Linked DNA regions of Homo sapiens: region 2 is linked to region 1. The links are contacts of gene promoters, found by promoter capture Hi-C in blood cells and fetal thymus (Javierre and others, 2016). All regions are on one chromosome and are shown on one strand. The core of a region is centred on a gene start or on the middle of the fragment in contact, and the rest is flanking DNA. Distances in the headings are between cores, read along the strand shown.

Evidence for each region. The method cuts DNA at HindIII sites, captures the fragments that hold promoters and counts their contacts. A CHiCAGO score of 5 or more calls a contact.
Region 2: a fragment that was not itself captured here is called in contact with the fragment with the promoter of WDHD1 in region 1 in 3 of 17 cell types (M1 macrophages, M2 macrophages and erythroblasts); the score reaches 7.4 in M1 macrophages.

Annotation. Positions count from the first base shown.
Region 1 is chr14:55,024,226-55,030,502 of GRCh38, reverse strand. It overlaps WDHD1 (WD repeat and HMG-box DNA binding protein 1), which reads left to right and starts at 3,404. Exons shown (of 26, transcript NM_007086.4): 1 at 3,404-3,475; 2 at 3,700-3,792. The coding sequence starts at 3,716. It overlaps SOCS4 (suppressor of cytokine signaling 4), which reads right to left and starts at 3,267. Exons shown (of 3, transcript NM_199421.2): 1 at 3,032-3,267. RefSeq lists enhancers at 2,528-3,054, 3,055-3,582 and a silencer at 3,377-3,426. The HindIII fragment of the contact is 4,247 bases long and covers 1,732-5,978 here.
Region 2 is chr14:55,153,641-55,159,550 of GRCh38, reverse strand. It overlaps DLGAP5 (DLG associated protein 5), which reads left to right. Exons shown (of 19, transcript NM_014750.5): 14 at 810-1,029; 15 at 4,745-4,934. Among named protein-coding and RNA genes, the nearest start is that of LGALS3, 27 kb to the right of the region's middle. The HindIII fragment of the contact is 3,616 bases long and covers 1,485-5,100 here.

The DNA.
Region 1 (6,277 bases), core at 2,155-4,654:
CAAAGGCTATATGTAAGGCTAGAAAATCTGCACAAAAACGTGCCTCAGAAATCTGAAGTCAAGGAGGCTCTTCCATTTCTGAAATATCACAAAGCACTTTATATTATTCCTGATGTTAAATATATTATTTTTAAAAAGTTTTAAATTCTTTAAAACAAAAAATTGTAGTTTTTTAGAAGCTTAGTAAATAGATTTAAGTAGAAACAGGCAAAGATTTTATAAGATTGTATTATATTTTCTTCACTGCTTTATAACAATTACATATGCTTACATTTAAGGTTGGGTAACAAGTTTTACGTACAAATTAGTAAAAGGTGACTCTACACTTTATGTTTTACTAAATTCTAAGTTTTGTGGCAACAGCTATGATTTGGAGAATCAGTGCGGTAGACTACCTTGGACTAGGTGAAAGACCTGGGTTCTATTTCTAGCTCTGACATTTCGCAGGTGTGTGACTAGATAAAGACTAGATAAATCACAACTTTTCTGTTTTTCTATCTATATAACACTGATTATCTCATCTTGCTGTAGTAAGGATCTAGTGTTAATGTAATACAAGAATCAAATACTGGCTGTCTTTAGCCAGGGGAACTGGATGGCTGGGAGTATGAGTAGGAGGACGACTTTTACTGTATTGCCTTTTATATCATATTAAGTATACATACAGACAAGTACTATTTACCCCAAAATTATTAAATAGGCTAGTAAGTTTCAGGACACATTTGGAAATATAAAAATCTTCACATTTCTAAAGTGCCTTCAATGTTTCTTTTTTCAATACTTTGGTCTCCTTGGCTATTGTTACACTCTTCTAGCCTTACCTTTCACAAGATTAATCATTTTTACACCAAGTACATATTTTACTAGAAAATAATTTTTTAAACTCCTTCCATAAGCCAATACTGATATATCCTCTTAGATAAATCCTGTAAGATCACATGATTTTATATAGGTAATACCATCATTGGTAGAATGGCAATGTACCCATGTTTTCTCACCCAATTGTCCTTGGGAGCAAAAATATTTGTGAGTCTAAGGGTAGTATGAGTGGTTACAACACAGCAAAGCTAACTAACCATCACTGCAATTCAATCTGTGACTTTGGCATCATTTTCAGTCAGTTCATTTAGCCACCCACACCTATGAGATAAGCACTGTTAATGACAAATAACTACATTTGGAAAATTTTTGATACTCCTATCAGTGACACAGCTACACTGATTTCTTTTTAAAAAACTATGTTATTTTAACTAACTAGACAATTTTGCTAATATTTAAGTTACACATCTTTCATTACTGCACTATCATCTTGATCATATTGTTTGAATGTCTATTTCCCTCAGCAAGACCATAAACTCACTGAAGGTATTACAATTTGTAGCCATTTGACTGAAACAAATGGAATTGTGAAAACATGATACTAGCAAAAACAAGAATACATTTTTTAATATTTGAAAAATTTACTGGATAATTATTTAAACAAATCCCACTTTAAACAAAAAACACTAAATACCCACCCAAAGCACCCCTTTAGTAACATGAGATATTAATAACAATTACTTTTATACATCCATGAGTATCTCCTATATACTCTAACAATGCGACGGAGGTAGGTGTCATCTCCATTTTAGAGATGAGGAATTCGATTTTCAGTAAAGGAACATATTCAAGGTCACACAATGTGTCAGTTAGAATTAAAACCCAGGACTGTTAAACTCGGAGGCTCAAGCTTTTACCATACATGCAAAATCTGCAAAGAAAATTGTTCTTTAACCTATGAATCAAATGGCTTGATTGATAAGAGAAAATGACAGATGTGTGGACATCAATCATAGTCTCATGGGTATTACAGATATTATAGTGAAGGCATTTTGTAGCTATAACTTGTTCCAATTTGCAGATTCTTCTTATGCTGAGCTCTGAATAGTACTAACCAGAAATCTCACCACGCTTTATTCAACATAGAGACGAATATTATGAGAGTTCATCTTGAACTCTATGTACTCTAGCCAATGATATTGTTACTTGAACGAAAAAATTTATAAGCCAGTCTATCCAAAAAACAAATGATCTCCAAAAAAAAAAAATTAGGTCACTCAGAAAGCATCATCTCTGGTACCACTGCTCTTTCGGGAGATCAACAGTGGGTTATTTTTCCACAAATCCCAAGTTGTTTTTAAGCCAATCATTCTTCCTCTTCATTCATATACAAACCTCAGCGTCTAGCAAGGCTATCTGGAGCTCTAGTACTAAAAACAACGCCTCACACAATGCCACCCACGGTAAGAACACGACGGTTTGCCTGTGTGTTTGCAACTTTTCACAATGGAACTAGATTGAAAAAAACAATAGGGAAACCTCTTCAACAGAAAAACGTCTCAGGTAATAAAATAAATGTGATTGATACTGGAAGGTATCACAAAAACGCAGAAAAATTCTCAAAGATAAGTACAAATGAAAGAATATCATTCTGAAGGTTTTCATCACAGGCTGCTGTACCAATATGGAGAATGAAGATACAAGAAAAGCATAAACTTAAACTTAGTGGCCAAGACTTTAGCAGATATTGCATGGATCAAATGTAAGTGCTCAAGGCTACTAAGTTATAACTCTTCTTTTGGTTATAAATATTCACTTCAGTAAACTTTAGGTGGGATCTGAATAGAGAACACAAGTTACTTTCTTCATAACGGATATATAGAGTCGCAAAGAATAAGCATTAATTGAGCATTAATTAATTATACCTTCAGGTACCAAGAGAACCAACCGGAACAGAAATTAAGTCATTCCTTCTTTATCTCTACAGAAGCGACAAGGTGAGGGCACGAAGGATGCCAAGATTAGAGGCTCTAGAAGATCTCGCCTTCTTTTCCAGAGAAGATGCTCAAAGATCTGTCTGCTAACTGGGCCCCAAGAAAGAGACCGGATCCTTTTAGGGATCCGGATATTGTTTCCTGGGAGGAGAGCCTGGAGGGCAGGAACAAGACCCCGGCCTGCGAGGCCAGGCAGCGGCCACCCTTCCCCCACTCACCTCCCGGAGCGCAGCTTAACTGGGGTTGTGCGAGTAACTGCTGCCATCACCATCGCCATCAGTCTGGGCGCTTGCTTAAGTGGAGAGGGGAGGCCCAACCACTCCTGCACCTCGTGTAGGTCTTACAAAGCAGATGCTTTTCTGCCACCCCCAACCCCGCTTCGGCGTTCCGGTCCCAACCCAGCCGTCACGGTCATCGCCTCCGCCGGTTCCCTGGGCGCCGCCACCACTTCCGTGTTCAGCTCCCTCCCTTCCTCCCTGATTTGCCCGGGCAACCGGCTAATTTCCACGCGGAGGGCGCCGCAGCTGACGCCACCACCCGGCGACCTCTGTCGGGACCTGCGCTGGGCGTGGGCGGGTCGGCGCAGGCGCAGTGTGGTGAGCGAGCCGAAGCGCGGGAAGCAGCTCTTGTGGATCCTCAGTGGCGGAGGCTCGGTCACCCGGGTGAGTCCCCACTCCGGCTGCCCGCGTCCACCAAGGAGATGCGTGTTCCCTTTCCGGCTTATTGTCTGACAGACCCTCTGCCTTATCCCGCTGGTGTCACTCGGGTGGGGGAAACCGGGCTGCGGAGAACGGGCCCTAGAGGAGACTAAGCTCTCTTCCTATCCCTAGCCTCGCTGCTTTTCTCTTTTGAAATAATAAGACTGGCTTTTATAAAACATTTTCAGATAGGTAAAGGAAAACATGCCTGCCACACGGAAGCCAATGAGATATGGGCATACAGAGGGACACACGGAGGTCTGTTTTGATGATTCTGGGAGGTAAGGTTCTTTGAGAAACAACGTTTTAGGTGCAAATGTTAAAACATTTATCCTTAAACTTTATATGTGCAGTCAGCTAAAAATGACTCATGCGGATAGAGGAATAATGTTGAAATCTAAAATGGCACACATATTTCTTTAGATTATTGTTTGATTCGGGCCGTCATGGTAGTTGTAGTATATCGACAAAGTTATAATCGTACTTCCAGAGGAGTTGGAAAGATGCGAGCTTCTCTCCATATATTTTCCCCTTCCCTGCATCTTACATTATTAATTTTGTCAGATCACTAGTTACTGCCTACTTGTCAAATTCAGTGGCCTGTTCTGTTTGGAATGATATCCTTCCATGCCTTTAGTGATGCTATTTCCCTTTTTGCTTATTTTTTTTTAACTTTTTGACGGCTTAAAACAATTTTTTCCTCTGATTCCTAAACTATAATATTTTCCTACGGTTATTCTGGTCCCTTTTATCTTTCCAAGTCCCATTCTTACGCACTACTGCTCGATTGCACGGCTTCCACTGTCGCTTCTATGTTGATTGATTCATTGAAAAAATACTTGTGTGTCTCTTTTGCTGGGGACTACAGATAGAATAGAGCGAACCAGACACAGTCTTTTCCTCCTTTGAGCTTAAGGTCTTTTTGGATTGACAGGCATTGAACACAAATTAATCACAAAAATAAATGTGTATTTAGAAACAAGTAATATGTGCAGTGATAAACATGTATGAGGAGAAGCTCATCTAGTTAAAGGAGTCAGGGAAGGCTTCTTTGGACAAGTGTTTCTTGAGACGCCATCTGAAGACGGAGCAGGCATTAAGCAGTATAAAGAGATGAGTGGTGGTGGCGGTGGGGTGGTGATGTTGGCATAGTAAGCAGAGGCAATACTGTGTGTAAAGGCCCAATGGGGCCAGGGATCATGGTATGCTCAAAGAACTGAAGGAAAACTAGCCTTACTAAAATGTGGAGAGTGATGCAGAGTTTAGTGAGAGATGAATCTGTGAAGTTAGGCAATGGATGTCCTATCCAAGACCTTCTGGACTTTATTAAGGAATCTCGTTTTATCCTAAAAGCACTGAGAAGGTATTAAAGGCTTGAAGCAGAGAGATGTGATCAGGTTTGTTTTTGAGAAAATGCATGGAGGATGAATTGGAAAAGGAGCACTCATGGATGCAGAAAGACTGTTAGAAGATACCTGTATTAGTTTGTGTAGGGGCGGGTTGCCCCTCCACACTTGTGGGTGTTTCTCGTAAGGTGGAACGAGAGACTTAGGAAAGAAAAAGACACAGAGACTAAGTATAGAGAAAGAAATAAGGGGACCCGGGGAACCAGCGTTCAGCATATGGAGGATCCCGCCAGCCTCTGAGTTCCCTTAGTATTTATTCATCATTTGTGGGTGTTTCTCGAAGAGGGGGATGTGTCAGGGTCACAAGACAATTGTGGGGAGAGGGTCAGCAGACAAACACGTGAACAAAGGTCTTTGCATCATAGACAATGTAAAGGATTAAGCGCTGTGCTTTTAGATATGCATACACATAAACATCTCAATGCTTTACAAAGCAGTATTGCTGCCCGCAGGTCCCACCTCCAGCCCTAAGGCGGTTTTTCCCTATCTCAGTAGATGGAGCATACAATCGGGTTTTATACCGAGACATTCCATTGCCCAGGGACAGGCAGGAGACAGATGCCTTCCTCTTGTCTCAACTGCAAGAGGCATTCCTTCCTCTTTTACTAATCCTCCTCAGCACAGACCCTTTACGGGACGGTCAGGTCTTTCCCTTCCCACGAGGCCATATTTCAGACTATCACATGGGGAGAAACCTTGGACAATACCTGGCTTTCCTAGGCAGAGGTCCCTGCGGCCTTCCGCAGTTTTTGTGTCCCTGGGTACTTGAGATTAGGGAGTGGTGATGACTCTTAAGGAGCATGCTGCCTTCAAGCATCTGTTTAACAAAGCACATCTTGCACCGCCCTTAATCCATTTAACTCTGAGTTGACACAGCACACGTTTCAGAGAGCACGGGGTTGGGGGTAAGGTTATAGATTAACAGAATCTCAAGGCAGAAGAATTTTTCTTAGTACATAACAAAATGGAGTCTCTTATGTCTACTTCTTTCTACACAGACACAGTAACAATCTGATCTCTCTTGCTTTTCCCCACAAGTTTGGGTAAGTGTGATAGAAGCTTGGACTAGAGTAAACATGGGTGTGTAGAAAAGAGTAAACATTCAGGAAATATTTAAAAAGATAAAGTCAACAGGATGGATCAGATATTAAGGATGGAGAAAGAGGCAACAGGGATAACGTCTACATTTCTGAATGTTACGGTTGAGAAAGTGATGCTTCCACTTGCAAATAACAGGAACACTTGAAGAAGGGCGTATTTCAGAGGTAGAGCTGTGGGTGGAGATTGAGTTTGCGTTTGGATGTGATTATTGTAGGATTTCTTTGAGATATTCACCTAGAGGGATAAAGTAGACAGTTGG
Region 2 (5,910 bases), core at 2,043-4,542, 130 kb before region 1:
AGCGATACCCTTTGCTTGCTTTATTTCACCATCTCCACCCCACACACATCCAATAGATGAGTAAGTCCTCTCAATTCTACCTTTCAAATATCTCTTGAATCTGTCCACTTTTTTCATCTCTTACTCCTTAGTCTGAGTGATCTTTCTAAAACACCAGCTTGATGTTAATCTTCTGCTTAAAAATTACCAATAACTCTCTGTTCCCTTGTCCTCTGTGTAAATGTGACTTTCTTAAGACCATTACATGCAGGTGATTTTTATTATAATCTAGCTATTGTTTAAATCCACTTTTCTTTGTTTCATTTCTGGCTTTGGAAACATCTCTCTAGCACTTGCCTCACCCCATCTTTTAGTTTGATGAAATATGGTTTCAGCATAGGTGCTACTTCCTACAACCTTTCCTGATGCCTGAAGATTGGTTTAGGTGTCATCCTTATTTATTTTCTTTTAATGTTTTACTTTTTTTTTATTTACTTTTTTTGCTTTTTCTTTTTTATGGGGGGGGGGTGTCATGGTTATAATCTAAAGGATGTCCCCTAAATTTATTTCTAACAGGACATTTATCCTTCTTACTATTCTTCCCAGATCTTCTACTAAGCTGCAAACTCCTTGAGGGCAGCAACTCTGTCCTTTACCTTTTTACCTTTTAGCACATACTAGGAACTTGATAAATATATGATGAATGTGAAATATTTTATGTATACTTTATTTTTAAAAATTAAATTTTTAAGTGATGAATTTGTGTTTGTTGTGTGTTTTTCTTGTAAGATGGTAATGGGCAGCTTTACTATGTTAGTTTCTCTTTGCAGAAAAAAGTTGTCTCAGGTATAGCAAGTAAACCAAAACAGGATGATGCTGGAAGAATTGCAGCGAGAAATCGCCTAGCTGCCATAAAAAATGCAATGAGAGAGAGAATTAGGCAGGAAGAATGTGCTGAAACAGCAGTTTCTGTGATACCAAAGGAAGTTGATAAAATAGTGTTCGATGCTGGATTTTTCAGAGTTGAAAGTCCTGTTAAATTATTCTCAGGTTAGTTGTTTTTGATTTTTTATTTTTTTTGTTTTTCCTGAGACTACTTAAGAGAAATATTTGGGATAGATGGGGGCTTGTGTAAGGTGAAAAATAGTTTTTTACATGAAGAGACATAAGTTTTTCTGTGATTTTTAGAAAATAGACTATGCTCGCTCACAAACACTGTAAATCACATTTTGATGGGTATGATCAGATTAGTTTAAGTGCGATAAGTCTTCTAAGATTGCTTTTCTACTTTCTAAGTGATTTCACATCTGTAATGTAATTACCATGTAACCCTACAGTCTATGAGAAAGGTCACAGGATCCCAAGAGGTAAGAGAAATGACGGAAGCATGAAGAAGTAAACTGATTTTCTTCAGGTCAGTTAGAAGTTTGGTTAGAATTTATAATGCAAAGGAAACTTGAGCATCCAGCTATCACACTTGTCTAGCTGTGCTTTAAAATGAAGCTTATGTGCTGTGTGTGTTGGTTCATGCCTATAATCCCAGTACTTTGAGAGACCAAGGCAGGAGGATCACTTGAAGCTAAGAGTTTGAGACCAGCCTGGGCAATTTAGTGAGATCCCCTCTCTACAAAAAAATAAAATATTAACCGAGCCTGGCAGTACATGCCTGTAGTCCCACCTACTTGGGAGGCTGGGGCAGGAGGATCACTTGAGCCCAGGAGTTCAAGGTTACAGCGAGCTATGATTGTGCCCCTGCACTCTAGCCTGAGTGACAGAGCAAGACTCCATCTCTAAAAAATAAAAGGAAGTTTATGCAAAGTGGATTTGGTTTTATTTGCATTTGTATTAAAACTTTTGCTCAGATCTTTTTGAAAGGTAGTAAACGTACTAATTTTCCAATTTAAAAATATTCCAGTAAAAGCAGTTTTTAATATTCAGGAAATCATTTTTTTGTGATTTTCTCACAGTGTTTGTCATAGCTTTTTTTTCCACAGACTATTTTTCTTGAATTGAATTTATCTCAATTGAAATTATTTATTTATAAGCCATAGATGTCCACCAGGAAGTTTTTTCAAAGTAAACCTAAATTGTTCTCTAATACCTGCTATCTGATATTTATAGTGATCCTCAAGTATATTATAATATTCTTGTTAGTTTAGGTATCAAATCTGGTGTACTTTTGTTTCCTTTAAGCAGCTACACTCCCTGGATACCCAGGAATCTCCCACTACTGCTAATAACATGACTCCATTCTACTACTTGTCAAGGATCTTCGTGGTTTTTACAGCTATAAGCTCATCATTCTGTTCTTTCATATACTCAACTCAGTCCTTATAGATAGGGAGATTAAGGTTTATGGCAAAAATTGGTCATTTAAAATTGAGTTTTAGTTACAGAGCACATAGTTGATATGAGGCTAATTACAAAACAGTAGTCCCTGAAGAAGCCCTTCTCATTCCATTTGCCAATCCCTAGAAGCAACTACTTTCAATTCTTACTGGAGTCTTTTGGACTTACTGGAGTCTTACTGGAGTTTTGTTGTTTACCACCATCTCTCTTGACAAGGTTTGATCTTTTTCAAAAACACATTTTTCTTCTGGTAGACTTTTTAATCTTTCTTTCCTGTACTTACTGTTTTCTTCTACTTCCTGGAGATTTCCTCAACTTTCATGCTGGCTATCATGTTTTTAATTCCCAAGAGCCCTTTCTTACTCTCCAAATGTTCATTTTATAACATTCTGCACTTGTTTCATCAGTGTATTGTTTTATCTTTCCAAGGATATTAATGATAGCTTTTATGTTTTCTTCATCCACTATAGACAGTATTTGTTTCAGGGTACTTTCATCTAGTTGTTTTTGGTTTCTGTCTCTTGTATTTAGAGGCTTTCCTCGGGAATCTGGTGATCTCTCACTGCCTGCACATGGTTAAGAATAGGGCACTAAAAAGCTGACTGGAAACTCTCTGCACATGGGTAGGACCTTTACTTTCGGGGCCCTTCTGTTAGCGGGGCCATTATGCTGGGAACCTACACATCACTGCATTTAAGACTTTTCTCATAGTCTACTCAGATTCCCCAGAGAAGATGCTTTCCATCTGCTTCCTGGAAGGTATCATTCTGGCTGCCAGTCTTTCAGGAGCCATGTAGGGGAAGAAAGCTAAGTGTCTCAACACTTTGTGTAAATATTCACTTATTTCCCTTATTTTCCATGTAGTACCCTGTCTCTCAACTGTATCTGGTATCCTCTAAACCAGAGACCCTTCTGTTTTTGGTGATGGGGGTGGGTGATGACAGTTGCTTTGCTGTGCAGAATGAGGAAAGGAATCTGAGCTCTTCTTGTTTAAACTGACTTTGAGCCATTCCTTCTGTGTTTAGCTCCATTTTCATCTCCACTTGCAGAGATACTTGGAGCCACCAGTTCTTTTGAGGGGTTATGTGGTAGAAATTGGGTTGATTCTCATTTTTCTTTCTTTTTTTTTTTTGAGGCAGAGTCTCACTCTATTGCCCAGGCTGGAGTGCAGTGGCACGATCTCAGCACACTGCAAGCTCCGCCTCCTGGGTTCACGCCATTCTCCTACCTCAGCCTCCCAAGTAGCTGGGACTACAGGCGCCTGCCACCACACCCGGCTGATTTTTTGGTATTTTTTTAGTAGAGACGGGGTTTTACCATGTTAGCCAGGATGGTCTCGATCTTCTGGCCCCGTGATCCACCTGCCTCAGCCTCCCAAAGTGCTGGGATCACAGGCATGAGCCACCGCGCCCGGCCAATTCATTTTTCTTGATTGGTGGCTTAGAATTAGTTTTCTTGAGTCTGCTAAGTCCCACTCAACAATCTACATTATAGCTTCCAAAATATTGTTATTGTTGCTATCTCTTCTTTAGTTTCCTTTGTCCTTGTAGAGTTCTGCTTTTTAAGATTATCTGTGTCCAGGCACGGTGGCTCACACCTGTAATCCCAGTACTTTGGGAGGCTGAGGCAGGTGGATCACCTGAGGTCAGGAGTTCGAGACCAGCCTGGCCAACATGGTGAAACCTCATCTCTACTAAAAATACAAAAAATTAGCCAGGCGTGGTGGCGGGTGCCTGTAATCCCAGCTACTCGGGAGGCTGAGGCAGGAGAATCACTTGAACCCAGGAGGCGGAGGTTGCAGTGAGCCAAGATCATGCCATTACACTCCAGCCTGGGCAACAAGAATGAAACTCCATCTCTAAAAAAACAAAAACAAAAAAAAAGGTTATCTCTGTTCAGGCCTGGCGCAGTGGCTCACACCTCTAATCCCAGCACTTTGGGAATCTGAGGCAGGTGGATCACCTGAGGTCAGGAGTTCGAGACCAGCCTGGCCAACATGGTGAAACCTCATCTCTACTAAAAATACAAAAATTAGCCAGGCGTGGTGGCATGCATCTGTAGTCCCAGCTACTGGGGAGGCTGAGGCAAGAGAATCACTTGAAGCTGGGAGGCGGAGGTTGCAGTGAGCCGAGAGATCACACCACTGCACTCCAGCCTGGGTGACAGTGTAAGACTCTGTCTCAACAACAACAAAAAAATTATCTCTGTTCATGTAAAAGTAGTGGGATGTCAAAAGGAAGCAGCATCTAATATGCATTTAAATACTATCTTTAACAGAAAGTCCCAGGCATTTGTCTTTAACAGACATTATTTGACAGGAGAAAGAGGCTAATTGATAGGATTTTCACCGTATTCCTAGTTATAATGAAAAGCAAAAGAACTATTTGGTATTGAGGTGATTTCTCTCATCTTCTAGGACTTTCTGTCTCTTCTGAAGGCCCTTCTCAAAGACTTGGAACACCTAAGTCTGTCAACAAAGCTGTATCTCAGAGTAGAAATGAGATGGGCATTCCACAACAAACTACATCACCAGAAAATGCCGGTCCTCAGAATACGAAAAGTGAACATGTGAAGAAGACTTTGTTTTTGAGTATTCCTGAAAGCAGGTATTTCTTTAACATGTTAATAAGAGTTTAACAGTTGCTGATACTAAATACCATTTCAGATTGTTAAGATGGTAAAAGGTGCCAGACATATATTTTTAATAAATTTCATAATGACCCTGCAACATATAGGCAGTACTCCCTTTTTATAAATGAGGAAACTAAAGCTTAAGGTTTCAGGATACTAAATGGTCACGTTTAGTTGGGTAAATTCTGCAGCAGTAAGAAGAAAAGAAGCAATATGGTATCCTTTGGTGCTAAACATACTACAACTTTGGTGCTCAACAGTTCTGAGCTGAGAAGAGCTCTGTGACTTACTAGCTATGCAACTTTGGGGCAAGTAATTAATTCTCTTTAGCTTCACTTTCATCATCTACAAAGCAGCAGTGCTAATGCCTCCCCAAGGTGGTTGAGAGATGGACACTTTTTACCAGGCTTTGTAGAAAGTACCTTGAGATTGTTTTCTTGACAGATGGCAGAGCATATTGAAGGGGGGGGAGTTAATGTGTACTGAACAACTGTTATGGGCTAGATATGCTTCTAGATTTTTTTGTTTGTTTTTTGGAGGTGGAGTCTCACTCTGTTGCCTAGGCTGGAGTGCAGTGGTACGATTTCGGCTTACTGCAACCTCTGCCTCCTGGGTTCAAGCGATTCTTCTGCCTCAGCCTCCCGAGTAGCTAGGACTACAGACACGCGCCACCACGCCCAGCTAATTTTTGTATTTTTAGTAGAGACGGGGTTTCACTATGTTGGCCAGGATGGTCTTGATCTCTTGACCTCATGATCTGCCAGCCTTGGCCTCCCAAAGTGCTGGGATTACAGGCGTGAGCCACCATGCCCGGCCTACTTTGTATATCTTGTAGTTTACTATTGTTTGCTAAGAAGATTCATAATTGCATTTGAGTCATAAGTACTCTTTAAAAATGTTTTGGATTCCCCAAAACATCCTCAAAGGGCATCATACAAATAAGCAACTTTG